Regions from separate parts of the Homo sapiens genome. Here region 1 is linked to region 2. Evidence: promoter capture Hi-C in human tissues and cell types (Jung and others, 2019). All regions are on one chromosome and are shown on one strand. The core of a region is centred on a gene start or on the middle of the fragment in contact, and the rest is flanking DNA. Distances in the headings are between cores, read along the strand shown. Region 1 has its middle 12 kb from the start of SIT1. Region 2 holds the start of FAM219A (family with sequence similarity 219 member A).

Region 1 (2,966 bases), core at 213-2,712, 1.2 Mb before region 2:
CCCCAAAGTACAGCTGGAATCTGAAGAGAAGATTTGTGAAGGATTAAGCCCTTAACTTATGGAGTCTGCACTAACTGTAGATGGTCAGTGCCAGAAATGGCTTTTAGTACACCAATTTTGGTTGAAACAGAAAAATGTCACAGAATGAAAACCATTTTAGTAAATAGCAATAATTCAGTCATTTTTGGTGGAAATTCTTTGATGTGATCTAAACCAAAATGAGATCAGCTTTGCTTCAAAAAGATTTTGCCAAATAAGAGAAACTGCTGAATATTTAACGTTTAAAATATCAATTTCTATGTATTTTTTCCTTTTTCATGGTGTTCAGGAATTAATTTTGTTAGCAGTCAAGATTGCTTAATCCTCAGAGTTACATTTCCATTTTGCAAAGTAACAACTGGTTGGTTTTTACTCTTAGTTTCCCTTTCCCCAGCCAGCATGTAAACAACCTGCCATATTGTTGCAAAAAGGCAAATAGGGTTAAAATTGGAGACAAGACTTCCATCATTTTTGCCAAGCAGAGAGGGAAGAACTCAGTAATCACATAATTCTGCTCAAACTAAGTGTATCTGAGAACTATTCAAATGTTCACAGGAGGACAGATGACCTCTTTTTTCTCCATTTCTCTTTGGATGTTACACTTTGTCATTTGTCATCAAAATTGGCCTTTTCCTTTATCTCTTTGTGGTAAAGCTTGATGGCATCTGAATTTACACTGTCTCCTTGACAGTTGTGCTGCTTCTGCTTCTTTCTGGCAGTTTCTACTTTTCCTTTCATTTTATTATCCTGCTTTTTATTTCAATTTTGTTTTTATAGTCTCTGTGTACTGTCTTGACCTTTAGATGGTCTTACCTTCAACATGGCAAGGATGTCACACTACCACGTACAAATAACAATGTGCTTTCTTAGCTCATTTCCCTAGCATGACTTTTTTTGAGATGTCAAAAGCAAGTTTTTGAGAAACCAATTGCATTTTTATTTTGCCCTAAGGGTGCTTAACCCAATGTCTCTTCTTTTATTATTATTTTATTACCCAAGGGAAAAAAAATTTACTTAGTTTATTTTTTTAAAGCCAGTACTTTGCTCATCAATTAATGTTTGTTGAATTTATTCCTACTGGATGAGTAGTTGTATTCTTTTGAAATAATGTGTCAAATCTTTGTGCCCAAAGATTAAAAAAATAAAAGTAAAATACATCTAAAAAAAAAAAAAAAGAATAAGGCGGCCTTCCGGCCCCTCTGGGTCTAGGGCGGTAAAGCGTCTAAGGGTTGCTGCCAAGCGGGCCAGGAACTGGGCTGGGTTTTCGCCTTTACCTTGGGTAGTTTCCTTTAGCTTGTCAGAATTAACAGCTTTGTGTGCTGCCTTTTTAAGCCCTTCAACTAGGCAGGAAATCATGTAATCTCGCCTAGCTATACCTGGGGAATCTGCCTGATAGTTCCTTTGGGGGTCCTCTCGGGGAACTGCTCTGATGCCTTCCTGGAGGCCTGGCTCATGAAGCCAGCGGTTGTCAGCGTGAGACTGGGCTAGAGAAAAAACTCTTTCCTGTTCATCTGGGGAGAGGGTGGAAGTCAGGATGACATTTAAGTCACTGCAGGTTAACTTGCAGGACAGAGTTAGATATCGGAATTCCTGTATATATTTAGCGGGGTCTGATGAGAAAGAGCCCAAACACTGGCTGATTTGGGAAAAGTCTGATACAGAAAAAGGCGCATGTACCCAGACTATGCCTTCAGCTCCAGCCACTTCTCTAAGAGGAAATTGTTGGGCAGGTGGGGGAGAGCTAGTCGCAGAACAAAACTGTAAGCCAGACTGGGTGTGAGGAGGGGAGGTGATAGAAGGGTTATAGGGTGGGGGAGCGGAGGCTGAAGAGGAGCTGGAGCCTGATTCAGCCTGGTGGGGAGCGACCTGAGGAGGAGCAGTCTGGGGAGGAGGGGAGAGGTCAGATGGGTCGGTAGAAAAGGAAGATTCAAAAGACCCAGCAACACTTGGGGTTGGGACTGAAGGGACAGGTGGGAGGGAAAGAAGGAGGATTTGGGACAAGTCGCATTGGGAACAGAGACTAGGGAGAGAATGAAGTGTGAAAGACGCCCGGATGTACGGCACCTCCGACCATTTGCCCATTTTTCGACAAAAATTATCTAGGTCTTGTAGGATAGACAAATTGACAGTGCCGTTCTCTGGCCACTTGGAACTATTTTCGAGTTTGTATTGGGGCCAAGTGGTATTGCAGAAGAAAATAAGGCATTTAGGTTTTAGGTCAGGTGTGAGTTGAAGGGGTTTTCAAGAACACAGGCTAAGGGAAAAGATGGGGGAATCGAGGGTGGAAGGTTGCCCATAGTGAAGGAGGTAAGTTTAAAGAGAAAGGTAGAGACACGGAGCAGGGGGTGATGAGCAGCCCTGGGCTGCAATGTGGGTGAGCAGCCAAAGCAGGCGTCCCCACAATTGACTTGCCACCAAGGGAATGTGGGTGAATGACCAAGGCAGGCATCCCCGTGGTGATCAGACACCAATGAAATGTGGGTGAATAATCAGGCAGGCATCCCCGCAGTGATTAGACACCAAGGGAAGGCTGTCTTCCTGAGTCCATGACCAGCGCCGGAGTTTTGGGTCCACAGATAAAATGTGTCTCCTTTGTCTCTACTAGAGAGGAAAAAGAACTGGAATTGGAAGGACAGGGAGATTGAAGGGTAGCAAGAGAGGGAGATTGAAGGGTAGCAAGAGAGGCTGGAGAAGAGAGTGAAAAGACCGCTTACCCAATTTGAAATTGGTGAGATGTTCCTTGGGCTGGTTGGTCTGAGGACCCGAGGTTGTAGGTGGATCTCCTCACAGAGTTAGGGCGAGGACAGGGGACCCGCCTCCCGAAGGAGTCCTCCTGTCCCGGGTCTTCAGCACCAAATGCCATGCACGTCTGTGTGAAGAGACCACCAAACAGGCTTTGTGTGAGCAATAAGGCTGTTTATTTCACC
Region 2 (3,111 bases), core at 250-2,749:
CATAGGAGTGGACCAGGGGCTCGCAGGGAAGAGAGAGATATGAGGCTCTAGAAATAGTTGGGGCAGAGTGTTTGGGTTGTGCACTGTGGGGGTGAGGACAGGGATGAGAAAAGGGCCTCTCTCCTCTTCCTCTTTGCCTGCCCTTTCTCTCCTCATAAATCTCCCAGCACAGAAAATAAAATCACACTCCTGCACATAGCCTGTCCTGTATTCTGTTTAGTTCTCTTGCACACCCTCTGTGGGCTCCCAAACAGCAAGAGCTGTGTTCCCACCTAGCCTGGAGCTAGGCACACAGCAAAGGGTTGGATAAAGAATGCCTTTGAGGCTGGGCGCCGTGGCTCACGCCTGTAATCCCAGCACTTCGGAAGGTCAAGGTAGGAGGATCGCTTGAGCTCAGGAGTTAGAGACGGGCCTGGGCAACATGGGGAAACCCCGTCTCTACCAAAAACACAAAATTTAGCCGGGCGTGGTGGCCTATGCCTTTGGTTCCAGCTATTCGTCAGGCTGAAGTGGGAGAATCGCTTGCACCCAGGAGGCAGAGGTTACAGAGAGCTGAGATGGCGCCACTGCATTCTAGCCTGGGCTACAGGGCGAGCCTCTGTCTCAAAAAAAAAAAAAGAAAGAAAGAAAGAAAAAGAAAAAGAAAAATTCCTTTGGGACAAGAATGTGAGAACAAGGAGGAAGGGACTCGTGGGAATGGGGATGGGGAAGTTAAGGAGAATAGACTGGTCAGAATGAGTCCATGGGGTAAAGTGAAGTGAAGAGATGGGAATGGTGGATAAAAGGAGAGAGGTAAGAAACGGTGGATTGGGGTAGTATGGGAGAGGAGGCCGGGATTAGTGGGAAAGAGTAGGACAGAGTCAGAGGTCAGTGGGAGCACTTACCAGAGGTCACGGGGGTGAGAAGGCTGGGGTCAACAGAGAAAAGATCAAGGATCAGTAGGAGAGGTATGATTAGTGGTCACTGGCGACGACGAAGGTCAGAGGTCATCAGAAGGAAGGTGTGCGTACGTTACCTGCTTATGAGGCTGTTTATGGGGAGCCTTCGCAGAAGCAGGAATCATCTCAACCCCTGGAGAGCCTACAAAACGCTCCCTCGTCTGAAGACAAAAAGTTTGTCCGTCTCCTTGACCACACACAAGAAATCTGGACTCTCTTCCACTTCAGTTACCAGTCGCAACGGTTCTTTAGGGACAGCCGTCGTTGTGGGTCCCCGTGCCCTTGCAGGATAGAATCCAACTCCCTGACGCGGTTACCCAGCAACCGACCAGCAGCCAAGGCGCAGGCGCTTCGGCGCGCCCAGCCGGCCCGGAAAGGAGGCGGGGTTGGGCGCGCGGCGAGCGAGTCTCCACTAAGCCCCGCCCCCTCAGGAATCACAGCTGGGCGGCCGCGCGCATTCGGAACTCCCGCATGTGGGTGGGGCTGGGGTCCCCAGGCACCGCCTCCTCATGAATAATGCAAGATCCGGGCGGTGTCCCGGACCCGGAAGTGGAGTTGCCGAGTCACCGCAGTGGCTGAGCTGCTGACAGGAGGCGGCAGCGGAGTAGGAGGCGAGGCAAGACCTGCGGCTCGGCCCGGCCACAGCCGCGGTAGTGCTAGGCAAGCCCACGGAGTCACGCCGGCCTCAGCCAGTCTGCGAACCTCTCGCCCCCGCCCACCCCTGCATCCGCCCGGCCCCTGCCCGCCCGAGTGGTCCGGGGAGGCCTAGTCTGCACCACCCGCCGGGCTCCTGGGGCCGCCGCCCCGCGCGGTCCTGTCGGCGTCCGCGGCCGCGCCCGGCCCCTGGCCCGCTCGCCCGCCGGCACCATGATGGAGGAGATCGACCGGTTCCAGGTGCCCACCGCGCACTCGGAGATGCAGCCGCTGGTGAGGGGGCGGGCGGCGGGCAGGCCAAGGCCGGAGGGGGCGTCGCTTGAGGGGGAGGGAGGGAATCAGGCCGGGGGGATCGTGCGGAGGGGCGCCATCGGATGGGGCAAAGAGATCCCTGAAAACGTATTGCCGGGGGACGGGGACTTGCAGGACAAGAAAACCGTGGGAGAATATGCTGGATGAGAGCAAAGGGACCTGTAAGGGCGGAGGGCACCGTCGGTGGAAGCAGGGCACCGTCGGATGGAACGGAGGGGGCACAAAGGTGCACACCGCTAGTGGAGGCCCATAGCAGGGACTGGCGAGGGAACTGCCATGGGGCACCGCCGGCGGCAGGCCCAGGGGTCTGGGATGGGAGGTGGGGAGGCGTTTAGTCCTAGAGGCCTGTGATGCTTAGGGCGGGGGAGCCGTCAGGCTAAGAGAGATTGGGAATCAGCTTTTAGAAGAGGAGGGGCTTGCCCGCCTGTCCGCTGGATATACGGACAGGAACGCTGGGCCGGGGCGAGGGACCCAGTGGGGGAAGGTGGTTGGTGCAGAACCTGGGAATTCCGTTCTCCGGTGGGGAGCGCAGGCAGACCAGGCTGGGGGCATCTAAACCGGGAAGGAGAGTGCGCGGCGACCAGATGGGGAATCGGGGTGCAGATGAGAGTGCTCGGGAACCGACGGGAGAGGAAGTGGGGTCGCGCTGGAGCTGCCTGTGCGCACTGGTTGGGAAGAGCCCCCATCATCTTAGGCCTACGTGCCTGAAGTCCTTGCTGGGCGCGGATCCTGCCGCCTGTCCGCGGTCCCGGAGTCAGGGAGGAATGATGTCATCGCTGCTGGCGCGGAGGGAATGGAAGGGGGAGGGCAACTCGGGTGCACCGAGGCTAGGCCTAAGGGAGACCATGCTTGCTGGCCACCGCCCAGGGGGCTCCCTGACCTCGCTTGTCTGTCAGGCAACCGGGTGGGAGACGTGGAGGCCTAGCCAGCTCGTATAGTGAGGGGGGAAGAGAGGGAATGTCTAGGCTGTGTTCGCTTTATCCCCCTGGAGCCTGAGCTGGAATTGGAAGGAGGCAAGGTGGGCTACAAATCCGAAAGTGTGGATGCCCCATTTCTCTGAGCTGTGCTGGCTGGAGCAGAGCTGAGTTCTCCAAGTTCTGAAGTTCTGCTTCTGTGTTAGGCAGGGTGGCCAGAAACAGGTCTACCCTTGGGCCTATAACCCCCTGGCTGACAGATGTGCTTTGTAGCTTCCTGGGCGAGTAACCTA

Evidence for each region. Contacts are between HindIII fragments. The study calls those that stand out against the background at their distance.
Region 1: a fragment that was not itself captured here is called in contact with the fragment with the promoter of FAM219A in region 2 in 1 of the 25 tissues and cell types used here (spleen).

What each region holds. Positions count from the first base shown.
Region 1 is chr9:35,637,273-35,640,238 of GRCh38, reverse strand. It overlaps a transcript of CD72 not described here. Among named protein-coding and RNA genes, the nearest start is that of SIT1, 12 kb to the left of the region's middle. The HindIII fragment of the contact is 4,615 bases long and covers 1-2,966 here.
Region 2 is chr9:34,456,958-34,460,068 of GRCh38, reverse strand. It overlaps FAM219A (family with sequence similarity 219 member A), which reads left to right and starts at 1,499. Exons shown (of 6, transcript NM_001184940.2): 1 at 1,499-1,865. The coding sequence starts at 1,806. DNAI1 (dynein axonemal intermediate chain 1) reads right to left here and starts at 1,264. Exons shown (of 20, transcript NM_012144.4): 1 at 1,016-1,264. The coding sequence starts at 1,063. RefSeq lists enhancers at 1,138-1,207, 1,304-1,598, 1,161-1,701, 2,833-3,111 and a silencer at 1,578-1,827. The HindIII fragment of the contact is 10,660 bases long and covers 1-3,111 here.